Linked DNA regions of Homo sapiens: region 1 is linked to region 2. The links are contacts of gene promoters, found by promoter capture Hi-C in blood cells and fetal thymus (Javierre and others, 2016). All regions are on one chromosome and are shown on one strand. The core of a region is centred on a gene start or on the middle of the fragment in contact, and the rest is flanking DNA. Distances in the headings are between cores, read along the strand shown. Region 1 overlaps TTLL4 (tubulin tyrosine ligase like 4). Region 2 holds the start of RESP18 (regulated endocrine specific protein 18).

The links. The method cuts DNA at HindIII sites, captures the fragments that hold promoters and counts their contacts. A CHiCAGO score of 5 or more calls a contact.
Region 1: a fragment that was not itself captured here is called in contact with the fragment with the promoter of RESP18 in region 2 in 1 of 17 cell types (total B cells); the score reaches 5.5 in total B cells.

Annotation. Positions count from the first base shown.
Region 1 is chr2:218,715,865-218,722,106 of GRCh38, forward strand. All of the region lies in intron 1 of TTLL4 (tubulin tyrosine ligase like 4), which reads left to right. Among named protein-coding and RNA genes, the nearest start is that of TTLL4, 8.2 kb to the left of the region's middle. RefSeq lists a silencer at 3,702-3,999. The HindIII fragment of the contact is 161 bases long and covers 3,426-3,586 here.
Region 2 is chr2:219,327,974-219,334,454 of GRCh38, forward strand. RESP18 (regulated endocrine specific protein 18) reads right to left here and starts at 4,771. Exons shown (of 6, transcript NM_001441699.1): 1 at 4,551-4,771; 2 at 2,798-2,902; 3 at 1,664-1,791; 4 at 1,190-1,279; 5 at 951-1,035. The coding sequence starts at 4,656. The HindIII fragment of the contact is 5,862 bases long and covers 1-5,645 here.

The DNA.
Region 1 (6,242 bases), core at 2,256-4,755, 610 kb before region 2:
CGTGATCCACCTGCCTCGGCCTCCCAAAGTGCTGGGATTACAGGCGTGAGCCACCACACCCGGCCTGGAATGATAATCTTATGGGACATTGTCTTCTATGGGGACTATCTGTTGACTGAAACATTATGTGAGGCATGACTGTTAGGAAAATACTGGTTCACTGAGTTATGCAGATCTCCCACGTGTCACAGTTTATTGTATAGTGTCAAAAAAATCATATCACCACAATCTCTTCAGAGAAGTAGTTAAATATTGGGAAGCACTCAAACTCGTGGTGGCAGATACCATTTTGCCAAAATTCTAATTTTCTTTGGGAAGCTCAAATTTTATCATTGGCAACAAGTACAGTCAGTTGGTTTCCTTGAAGTGACAGGCTTACTTTGTTTCATTTTCCAGAACCTTTGCCAAATAATGACGTCGGAATAACTATTACTTATGTGTCATTCATTCTTTCAAGTAAACATGGCGTTCCACAGAAAAATCCTGCAATTCAGACAATCACACAAGTGCTTTAGAGATAATCAACATGTTCTGCATGCAGCATAAATGTTTTATATGTACTTCACATTTTATCACACAGAATATTAAAAAGCATACTCAAGGACACTTTTTAATGAGATTTAATATAATTTACACTGTGTCGGGCTGGGCGCAGTGGCTCACGCCTGTAATCCCAGCACTTTGGGAGGCCGAGGCGGGCAGATCACAAGGTCAGGAGATCGAGGCCATCCTGGCTAACACGGTGAAACCCTGTCTCTACTAAAAATACAAAAAATTAGCCGGGCGTGGTAGTAAGTGCCTGTAGTCCCAGCTACTCAGGAGGTTGAGGCAGGAGAATGGCGTGAACCCAGGAGGCGGAGGTTGCAGTGAGCCGAGATCGTGCCACTGCACTCCAGCCTGGCGACAGAGCGAGACTCTGTCTCAAAAAGAAAAAAAAAATTTACACTGTGCCATCAAGTAAACCTGGTTGTATTCTTTCACTGTGTGGTGGAAAAGTATAGTGGGTAAGAATCTAATTTCGTGCCATCGTCTTGATTCATGCTAAGTCACCAGCAGTTTTACTCATTATTGCTTTTGCTCTATCAGTGGAAAGGTCAGCACAGTAAAAAGGCAAATAACATCTTAGGTTTTTTTCTTTTTCTTTTTTTTTGTCCGAAGACAGGCTGGAGTGCAGTGGCATGATCATGGCTTACTGCAGTCTCCACCCCCCAGGCTCAGGTGATCCTCCTACCACAGGCATGCACCACCACATCTAGCTGATTTTTTGTATTTTTTTTTTGTAGAGACAAGGTTTCACCATGTTGCCCATGCTGGTCTTGAACTCTGGAGCCCAAGTAATTTGCCCACCTTAGCCTCCCAAAGTGTTGGGATTATAGGCACAAGTCACCCCACCCAGCTACCTCTTAGTTTTGTTATGAAAATATTTTCTATGTAGCAGGACCGCCAAAAGGATCTTAGGGTCCCCTCAGGGTCTGTGGACCATGCTTTGAGAACTGCTGCTCCAGAGCCCACCTGAGAAGGAGGAAAGAGCCTCCTTCCCGAAGCTGATAAAGGGCAAGGCTTCAGGAGAGTGAGTCACCCCATTACATAAACCCTTCCACTGGTTTCACTTTTCAGTAATTTATAGGTTTACCTCCCTCAGCTCCAGCTGCCATAACCTGTATCTTTTCCTCAGGTTTGCTTACTTGTTTGGCATTGCTAAACTGTGCTCTACAAGAGCTACCTGTAATTTCACTAATCTTGACTTATACGGACCCACCCTTCTCACTAGGCTGTATTCTTGACCTTCCTCTCTTAGTAGGGCTTTAGGAGAGATATATTGCTCCTCCACCTTTCCTTAGGGAGAGAGAGCTTGGGATTTATCTCATAAGAGAAAATTAATGTGATTCCTACACTCCTCTCTATTTGGTTCCAGGCAAGTCAGTTCTATCTTCTTCTTTTTTTTTTTTTTGGAGACAGAGTCTTGCTCTGTCACCCAGGCTGGAGTGCAGTGGCACAGTCTCGGCTCACTGCAAGCTCCGCCTCCCGGGTTCAGGCCATTCTCCTGCCTCAGCCTCCCAAGTAGCTGGGACTGCAGGCGTCTGCCACCACGCCTTTTGTATTTTTAGTAGAGATGGGGTTTCACCGTGTTAACCAGGATGGTTTTGATCTCCTGACCTCGTGATCCACCTGCCTCAGCCTCCCAAAGTGTTGGGATTACAGGCGTGAGCCTGTCAGTTCTATCTTCTAACATAACTGTTGAGCAGTTGAGGTAATCTCATCAGAGATCTTGTGGACTGTAGACTGAACCATTTCTGATGTCCTGAGTTTCCCTGGTGACCGAGGGAAACACCTAGTTGAAGGAGGAAAGGGAAACTGCATTTCCCAAGAGCCACACTCTCTTGTAGGAGAGTGATTTAATTAGTGGGTAATGAATAATTGCTTTCTCTAGAAATAGATACCTTGTCCAAGTTGGTCTGGGCCTGGTCCCTGGAGACTTGTTGGTTTGCGACAGCAGCAATAGATTTTCTTTTCTTTTTTTTTTTTCTTTTGAGACGCAGTTTCACTCTTGTTGCCCAGGCTGGAGTGCAATGGCGCAATCTCGGCTCACCGCAACCTCTGCCTCCCAGGTTCAAGCGATTCTCCTGCCTCCACCTCCCAAGTAGCTGGGATTACAGGCATGCACCACCATGCCTGGCTAGTTTTGTATTTTTAGTAGAAATGGGGTTTCTCCATGTTGCTCAGGCTGGTTTCGAACTCTCGACCTCAGGTGATCTGCCCACCTCGGCCTCCCAAAGTACTGGGATTTCAGGCATGAACCACTGCGCCCGGCCAGCAATAGATTTTCTAACATAGGCTACTAATCATTCACACTCCTTTAAGGAGGAAACTTGAGGCAAAATCACCCCATAAAGATTGGAGGACAGAACTGTATAGGCAGTTTCCAAATGCTGCATGAAGATGACAAAGTAGGATGTTCAGATTCCTGAGAATGGGTGTTTTAAAGGGGAGAGTCTGGAGCCAGGGACATCAGTCAGGCTGCTTACCTTAACAGTCCTGCACTTGGTGTTAGAGGGGTTGGAGACTGGGCTGAGGCAGCCATGCAAATAGAAGGGGATGTTTCAGGCCATTTTGTTGATCCATACAACTTTCTGCAGTTTTTTATTCTTCACTCTTACCCCTTTATTCAAGTTTTATTTTTATTTTTAACAGTTTTGTGGAGGTATAATTCACATTGAACATATCCATCGTTTCTAAGTCAATTTTTTAAAAACTTTTGTTCTAGGAAGACTTAGTGTTCCATAAAGTTGTTGGGGGAGGAGACTTGGGCAATATTGCTAATAGGAGGCCAAACTGGACCAGGGTTCTTCCCACCCCCTTCTGCCAGCGTGGCTCTGTATTTGAGGTTAAAGATCCCCAGAGATTTCCTATAAAAGCCATCATGAAGCTTATAGGGCATATCACTAGGGTAAGTGAACAGTGGTGTGAGATAGCCTTGGGAAAGTATCACGTGAGAGGGACACACAACAGGTGCTCGTGGAGAGGGTGGGTCTTGAGCTGGGTCTGGAAAAGGTAAATAAAATATGGTAAGGATTCACAAGGAAGAAGCTTAGTGGAGTAAAGCCCTGCAGACAGGCATTTGAAAGGTTTATTCCAGGAATTTAGTGTAAGACCAGCGCAGTTCACATAACAGAGTTCAAGGTAGGAGGAAATGGAAATAAGCCTTAAAAAAAAAAAAAAAAAGATTAAGGGTCGACTATGGAGTCTTGTGGACCAAAGCTAAGAAATCTCACATGACAGTCATCTGGAATGCTTGTTAAAACTGCAGACTCATGGCCCTACTCCACACCAACTGAATCCTCTTGAAGGTGAATCTCAGGACTTTGCATCTCAGGTTATTCTGATGCAGGTGGGCCACCACAGTGTTTAGTAAGTGCTCATGGACCGTTTTTGAAAAGGGATTGACCTGATGAAGCAATACAGCAAAATTAATCTGGAGGTTGCCTGCAGGGTGGAATTAGGAAGGGCACACCTTGGAGACACATGCTTCAGTCAGTGCTGTTGCAGTAAGTCCAGATCTAGGGGCATGGTGGAAATAATAAAAGGAGGAAGAATGCTAAGTAGACAGAGTGTCTTAAATTTCATGACTGGTTTCCCTTTGGGGAAATAAAGTAAAGGAAAAAGTCAGAAATAACTTAGTTTTCCTCTTAGGTGATTTGGAGAAAGAAGGGTCCACTCAAGGAAATGGGACGATCAGGAGTGGAGAGCTAGTTTGACACACTAGATTGAAGTGGTTGGACATGCATTTGGAAAGGTGGAACAGGCAGTTGGTGATGCAGACATGAAACTTGAGACGACAAATCTGCAAAATGACTCTTCTGCAGATAATAGTTGACATTGTGAGAGAGATTGATTTGATGTGGGGGAGGATGAAAGAACTGGAGGATTTTGGATTGGCCTCAGGAGGAGGAAAGACACTATTGAAGGGGTTGGGTACAGCTGTGGCAGAGTGCACGCACTGAGTAAAAAATAGCAACAAGGAGATGGTGGTAAGAGGGGAACGCCTTTTTCATATGAATAGGTCCAACTCGTGGCTTTGCTGATGTGATATTGTGATATAATAAGAAATACTCCAGCCTGGTCAGCATGGTGAAACCCTGTCTCTACAAAAATACAAAAATTATCCGGGCACGATGGCGGGTGCCTGTAATCCCGGCTATTCGGGAGGCTGAGGCGGGAGAATTGCATGAACGCGGGAGGCAGAGGTTGCAGCGAGCCGAGATCGTACCATTGCACTCCAGCCTGGGCAACACAGTGAGACTCCGGTCTCAAAAAAAAAAAAAAAAAGAAAGAAATACATAATTGGGGTGTGCCCCTGGTTCCTGGCTCCTAAAACCTTCAGAACTTGTAAGTGATAAGTGTCTTTTTATATGCTAATGAGATGATTGATAGCTGGGGACTCCTGAATAGCCTCAAGATGGGAGGCTGATTGCCGAGAGAACCAACCATGTGATTAGAGGGTTGGAACTTTCAGTTCCATCCCCCACCTTCTGGGAAGGGGAGTGGAGCCAAAGATTGAGCTGACTACCAATGGCCAGTGATTTATTCAGTCATGCCTATTAATGAAACCTGCATAAAAACCCAAAAGGACAGGGTTTGGATTGTTGAGCACATGAATGTACCTGGCACTCCCGGTAACAGCACGGAAGCTCCAAGCCCTTTTCCCCATCCCTTGCCCTATGCATCATGTATCTCTTCCATGTGGCTGTTCATCTGTATCCTTTGTAATAAATAGGTAAATGTAAGTGAAGTGTTTCCCTGAGTTCTGTGAGTTGTTCTAACAAATTGATCAAACCCCATGGGGGGGTTTTGGGAACCTCAATTTACCCCCAATTAATTAATTAATTAATTAATTAAGAGGTGGGGTTCTGCCATGTGGCCCAGGCTAATTTTGAACTCCTGGGCTCAAGCGATTCGCCCCACCCAAGGTGTTGGGATTACAGGTGTGCGTCACCGCGCCTGGCCAGGGAACACCAATTTATAGCAAATCAATCAGAAGCACAGGTCACAACCTGTGCCTTGCAATTGGAATCTGAAGTGGAAGCAGCCTTGTGGTACTGAGCCCTTAACCTGTGAGATCTGATGCTATCTTTAGGTAAATAGTGTCAGAATTGAATTATAGGATATCCAGCTGGTGGCCTCTGGAGCATTCCTTGGTGTGTGTGCCTCACACATTTTGATGACCAGAGGTGAAATATTCTGTACTGTGTTAAGAGTGACTATGTAAGGGAGTGAAAAAAGTTTTTTCCCCCTTAGCTGGTCATAGCTGTTGTAGATGCATTTGTTTATTCAGCAAATATTTAATGAGCCCTGATTACCATTCTAGGGCTGGATACATAAGCTCTGTGAAAAAGTCCCTGTGCTCAAAGCTTTCATTCTGGAAGATAGACAGATAGCAAAGAAATGCATAAATAATTGAGGTTTTTATTTTAAAATAGCCAGGCCCAGTGGCTCATACCTGTAATCTCAGCACTTTTGAGAGGCTGAGGCAAGAGGATCACTTGAGGGCAGGAATTCGAGACCAACTGGGGCAACATAGTGAGACTCTGTCTCTATTTAAAAAAAAAAATTAAAAAACTCAGAAGTTAAAATTAGGGCCAGGTGTAGGGGTTCATGTCTGCAGTCCCAGCACTTTGGGAAGCTGAGGTGGGAGAATCGCTTGAGCCCAGGAGTTTGAGACTAGCCCTGGCAAGATAGCAAGA
Region 2 (6,481 bases), core at 3,521-6,020:
TGCAGGTTGCCTTTAGATGGAGGGTGCAGCCAGCCGGGGGTGCCCTGCTTCACTGCCACCACCCAAATTCAAGCCACCTCGGTCTCCCTGGACCAGGATGAGCCCCTCCTTACAGACCTCTCAGTTTTCACTTTTGCTCTCCTTACAGTTCATTCCCCAACATCACCAGGGTGGCCTTTTAAAATCATATCACGTTGTGACATTCCTTTCCTTAAAATTTCCCAGTTAAATTCCCACTGCACTTAGAATGAAATTCAAACCTTTTGCTATGATCTGTGAGCCCCTGTGTGGTCAGTCCTGGGCCTAATTCTCCACCCTCATCTTTGACCACTGACTTTTCTGTCTGTTCCTTAACATGACATGGTATGGGTGTCTCAGGACATTCGTAGTGGCAATGCTGTCTGCCTCAGATGCCCTTCCTTTACATCTTCCTCTGGTTGCCACCTTATAATTTAGGTCTTAGTCCAAAAAAAAAAAAACCTCTTTTTTCAGTGTGGAGGAGTCTGATGTTTGGAATGGCCAAATCCCACTGCAGTTCTTGAGTGGAAGGGCAGGGACTATGCAGGGGGAAAGAGCTGGAAATCAGGAGACCTGGGTCCAGTCTTGGCTCTGCCACAAACCCATGGTGTTGCCTTGAGTATGTCCCATGGCCTGGGCCCCAATTTCTCATCTATAAAGATGGATGGGAGTACTAGATGGGCGGTTTCCATTCTGGATTCTGAAGAGTTCAAAGATCCCAAGGAGATGTCTCAGAGCCTTGCCTGGGTGACTTGCCCAGGCCATAGAGTAGAGCAAGGGGGAGGCTGAATGTGAGGGTCTCTGAGCTGCACCTCCCATTCATCAAGGGAGTGTTGCTATCATGTGCTATATACAAGGGCATATATGGCAAAAAGGACGTTTAATTTTGAAAACTCTGCTGTTTCAATGCCTATTTTAAACTCAATACTTACGCATGATCTTATAGATAATTTCTTCCTTAGAGGGTCCCGGCGCCTGCATCATGTCCAGCCCCCCATATGAACACCTATAGGTAATCTGAGAGATACAGGAAATTAGAAGTACCTTTGATTAGGAATGGAAAAATCTTTTCTGCAGCGATCTGCCCTCACCTCAATGCCCATTCCCTTCTTCCTATCTGCCTCCCTCATTTAAACAGGTCCAACCTCCCTAGAAAAAGTGAGCCCCTCACCTTGACAGGGTTGGCCACCTCTTGTTTCAGGGCCTTAGAAACCACTTCGGAGGTAAAGCACTGATCCCTGTTCACCTTGGCCAGGGGGCTCTGTGAGGAGGGAAACCAGGAGTCAAGGAGGAGGCAGAAAAGGGTGAGAGGGCCCCACAGGAAAAGCAATTGGATACAAAGTCAGGGATTCACAATTCTTGAGAAGATACGTGAGTCTCACTGGGGAATAGGAGTTGAAGTTTCTCCTCTTGCTAGAAGAGACAGGGAATGACAAATTGGACCTAGGCTTGCCACACCCACCTCCCCTCCCTTTGCAGATATCACTAATGGATCATGAAATTCTTCTCTGCTGATTCCAAACAGGACCTCTGAATTCTCACAGTGCTCCTGGCAACTTCTACCTGCAGTTTTAGCACACATTCCTTCCCTGTTCCGTCTGTCTGCCAGAATGCTTGGAATGACCACAGGCCTCATGCACCTCACCTCAGTGGTTTTAGTGGGGAAAAGTGCCTTCCCATCCTTCAGGCATGGTTCTTGGGGATGCAGTCTGCTGGCATGCTCCATCTTTTGGATCATTGCATCCTGGGTGATGTCATCCTTCCAGAACAGACCTGCAGGATGAAAGGATGGGGGGTGAGTTGACACCTGAGACACTCGGATCCACTCCAGGGATCAGAGTAACCTTTCTCTCAAGTATATATTAGATTACATTTTACAGAGAATTAAACAAGATGATGTATTAAAGTTGCTTAGCATAGTGCCTAGCATATAATATTCAAATTAGGATTATGATTACAGTCTCTTTGCTGGTTCATTTGATGCTATTGTGAGGATTAAATGAGGTTAGGAATATAAAGAGTGCTTAGAAAATGCTAAGGCAGTGATTATCAAACTTTAGCATGTGCATCAGAATCTCCTGCAAGGTCTGTTAAAATACAGACTGCTGTTTCCCACCCCTAGGGCTTCTGATGCAGTAGGTCTGTGGTGAAGTTCAAAAATTCCCATTTCTAACAAGTTCCCTGGCGAGGTTGATGCTGCCAGTCCAGGGGTGCACTTTGAGAACTACTGCTCTAAGGCACTATGCACATATTAGTGTTAGCAGCAGTAATATGAACTCAAGGAAGATTTCCTAGCTGACTGTCTCCTCCCCAACATTCATGAAACTCTGCTGTGAGACAGGGTCAGCCACATGTTGCCAATGGACTCTCCACTCCCTTTCATTCCTCCCATCTGTTTGTCATACAATTTCCTACTCAGAGGCTGAAGTGTGTGTTTTCCTGTCTGAGAACTTGAAGAGTCCTGGCTTTGGAAAAGCTCATATAGTGCTGGGGTTGGGGGGAGACTAGTCTCAAGGAGTTGGATGCTGGCCGTTTTCAGTTTTGTTTTTTTTTTTCCCTAGAAGCCTTTACTGGGCTCTTCCAAGGTGTTCTAGTGCAAATAGTCCACCCATCCAGATCCCACTCCTACTCCTGTCTCATCCCCATGGGGGTAAATGTGACAAAGTTTTAAGTAGAGACATTTGGGGAACAGAAAGCCTACCCTCAGGTCGGATAGCCCCTCTTCCCCCCTCCCCATCTCTAACCAGGCCCCAACCTCTGTTCTCCAGCTTTTACTTACCTTGGGGTATAATCTGCTGGAGCACAACCTGTAAATGCTGGAAGACTGGGGTGGCAAATCCTTGGAGGGGCCAAAGCTGCCCCACTCCTACTTGGTCCTGACCATCTAAGGGCAAAATAGTGGTGTCAGCAAGGAACCTGGCCAGAGCCTTCCACATCCCAGTTGAAGAGAAGCAGCTTCCTTGTACTGTCACTCCTGGACCCCTGACCTCTGTTCCCACTACCAGGCCGCTTTGTCCACTTCAAGTCTTCTTTAATTTTTCCCTTCCTCCATCACCACTTGCCATATTCTTCAACCCCTGGGCCTCATTCACTCTTGGTACCAACTTACAGATAACCAGATTTACAAAGAGCAGCCTGTAGAAGTTCAGATGCGCAGAGGCTCAGAAAGCTGAGCACATGGGAATAGTAATCAGGTGGGTAGGTGGGGCATGGGGAAACAGGTGAGCTTCATCTTAGGGAAGTCATTGAAGCCTGGAAGTGTTAGGGAGGAGGCCTGGAATCATTAGAAAAGGTATTGGTTTGTTTAGGGTTTGAGGCTCTGGATCCTTTTCCTGAAGCCCACAGTTTGCCCAACTGTGCATGAGAGGAAGGACAGGGGTTGGGGAAGAGAACCCCTAATGCTATGCACACCTTCCTTCTTCCAGATCAGTGAGATAGGGCTGGAGGACAGTCTGTTTTTTGCTATAGTGTAGTTACCATGAGCCATTCTGGACAGGTCTTTAGAAAAGGGAATTCTCCTACCCAGTCAAATGGATGTCTAATAATTTCCTGGGGGTAAGCGTGACAAAGTTTTAAGTAGAGACATTTGGGGATGAGAAAGCCTCCTTAAGGAAGTAGTGGAACCTCCAACACCCTGAGGAGAAGGGAAAGAGCTTCGGGAAGGGGAGCTGATTCTCTGAGGCAGCGTTCCCAGGACTGGTGGGAAGGAGTGGTGACCCGCTCGGGCTCGGCGTGGACCCGGAGCGCGCCTGGCGCTGTCCGTGGTGCTGAGAGGTGGGGAGGCCAGCGTGGCGGCGGCGCTGGGCGGAATGTGGGCGAGACATCTCCGCAAGGCTTGGCGGTCCTTCCCCACGGCCCTCATCCTCTCATTGCCACCAGGCCTCCTCCCACAGCTGTTCCTGAATCCGCTGCATTGGCCTCTAAAACCAAAAATCAGGGAGAGGGGGCGACAGACTAGGAGTTTGCGCTCTCTTCCCCATGCGCTCTGCGCAGGAGTTCTCGAGTGTGCGCAGTCTGGCACGTGAGTCAGCGCGGGGTCTACGCGGATTGGTGCGGGGGAAGGGGAGAAGGATGGTCCCATTCCCCCTCCATCCTGCTTTCCCTCAGCGGTCCCCTTATTGGAAACCGGATCACAGCACGAGGAAGCCCTGGCTCGTCTCCTGGCCCAGCCTTCTCCCTGGAGCCAAGACCCCGATACCCGCAGCCCTGGTCAACTCTTTTTCTGGCCTTTCTTGCTTCTCCTGTGGCCACATAGGCCAGTTTTACCTCTCTCTGTTCATTTGTCTTTCTGACCTCTTCCCAAATCCCCAATTTTCACCTGAACCCACTTCTCGTGAGTCCAGACCCCATATGCCCAGCCTATCTGAAGCCTATGCCTCTTTCCGCTAGACGCTGTCTACCTTTTTCTCTTCTCACGTCCTTAAGCACATTCTTTTACTTCCAAGTTTCCTAGCCTTGAGGCCCCCTGCAGACCCCCACTTCTCAGGATCGCTTTCTTGGCCCTGCCCGCACCCCCCAGGGTTCCTCCTGACCGTGGGCACTAGTGTCGCTGCAGCCCCCCGGGCAGCTGTTCAGCAGCAGGAAGCAGACAAGCAGCTGGAGCCCCTCGGAGCTCCCAGGCCACAGTGGGTGCTGTATCCTCCCAGGCTCGGCGCGCTCACTCCCCGGCCAAGTCTCAGTGAAGGTAGCGGCCACGGCCGAGGGGCTGAGCGGGGCTGCAGCTTCCCACCAGCCCGCGACTCCGAATCTGTTTAACCCTCCTCGGCAGTTCAGCCAATCGTGAGCGGGCCCTGCCCCTGCGGTCGCCTCCCCAGCTCCTTCCCCTACCGCCTCCCCACCCTCATCTCTTGGAATTCCTGACCCGGCTCCTTTCGGGCATTAGCTGGGTCCCAAGAACCACCGCCTGTACTCCCAGTCCTAAGGCTGCAGAAACGGATGGCACGTAAGATACGGGTGCAAGTTGTACCTACTCAGGTTTGTTGTGAGAATCAAATATGAACAGCGATGAAACAGTAGGCACTCAAGGAATTTAGTTTATTTTATTATCCTTGACACTCTTTACTCTGGCCCACTTAAAACCCTTTAGAAATCATATAGGTTCGATCTGCTATATATATATATATAATATTATATATTATATATTATATATGGCACATCCATCCACTTTACTCCACATCCACTGCCATCGCCTTGGTCCAAACCACTGCACACTGTACTTTTTTTTTTTTTTTTTTTTGAGACAGTCTTGCAATTTCAGATCACCACAACCTCCGCTCGACCTCTACTCAACCTCAGGCTCCAGAGTAGCTGGGACTACAGGTGCACACTACCATGCCCAGCCAATTTTATTTATTTATTTATTTATTTTTGTAGAGACAGGGTTTTGCCATGTTTCCCAGGCTGATCTCAAACTCCTAGGCTCAAGCAATCCTCCCACCTTGGCCCCCCAAAGTGTTGGCATTACTGGCATGAGCCACCATGCCAGGCCTTGGACACTGTACTCTTTTAAATTGAGTTGTTGTAGTAACTAACTAGCTAACTGACCTCTTGCTTTCACTCTTGTGTACTTACAAGCTAGTTTGTGAGCTTTCTAACTCTTAGACTGGCATTTAAATTTTTTTTCATTAAGCTTAAAACATTTATTAAACTGGGCATGGTGGCTCATGCTTGTAATCTCAGCACTTTGGGAGGTCGAGATAGTGGATTACTTAAACCTAAGGGTTTGTATAGTGAACATTTGGGGTTGATACATTACAAAGGATCTGAATTATATTATTATCTTTAAAGGGTAATAGTTTGAGTTTGTTCTGGCAGGCAATTAAATTTTTGGTAAAAAGTCTTGATCCTGTGGCAGTCTGGTTAGGGAAGGAGTACTTCATCCTATTCTCAATTCTAGCCTGTATCTCTTAGTCCTGGGATATGGTGCTTATGGCTAAGGTGTGGTCCTTTTTGGATTTCAACATAACCCAAAGTCATTTACCAAAACTCTCTATTTTACGGGTCCTGAACTCCAAACTCAGTCACCCTAACACTGTGACAGCTGCCAAAATCTCTGTTCAGATATTTGACTTTTTCACTAGGTTCCTTGAAATCTCACCCTGCGCAAGTGCCATTTAGAAGATAGCTAAGAATTGGAGGGGAGTTAGGATGCAGATTTTGAGTTCCTCTCTCTGTAATTTATTCATTTTCTAAATTTCTTCCTCAATTTCCAGATGCTCTGGCATCTCTGTACTCCAAAAGCTGTTTCCTTAGTAAGACTGCCAGTTGCTGACAGAGCTGTTTCCCTGTGTACTGCAGTGAACTCTGAAGTATCTTCAGAGGAAAAGCCTATACATGTATAAGTCACTTGGTGGACTTCCTTTTTTTGAGGACTATACTCCCTGTAGGTTTCTAACTCTTGATCAGTCTCCATGCTTTCATACAGTTATTTTTATATTTTGCCTAGAGTATATACCCAATGTTA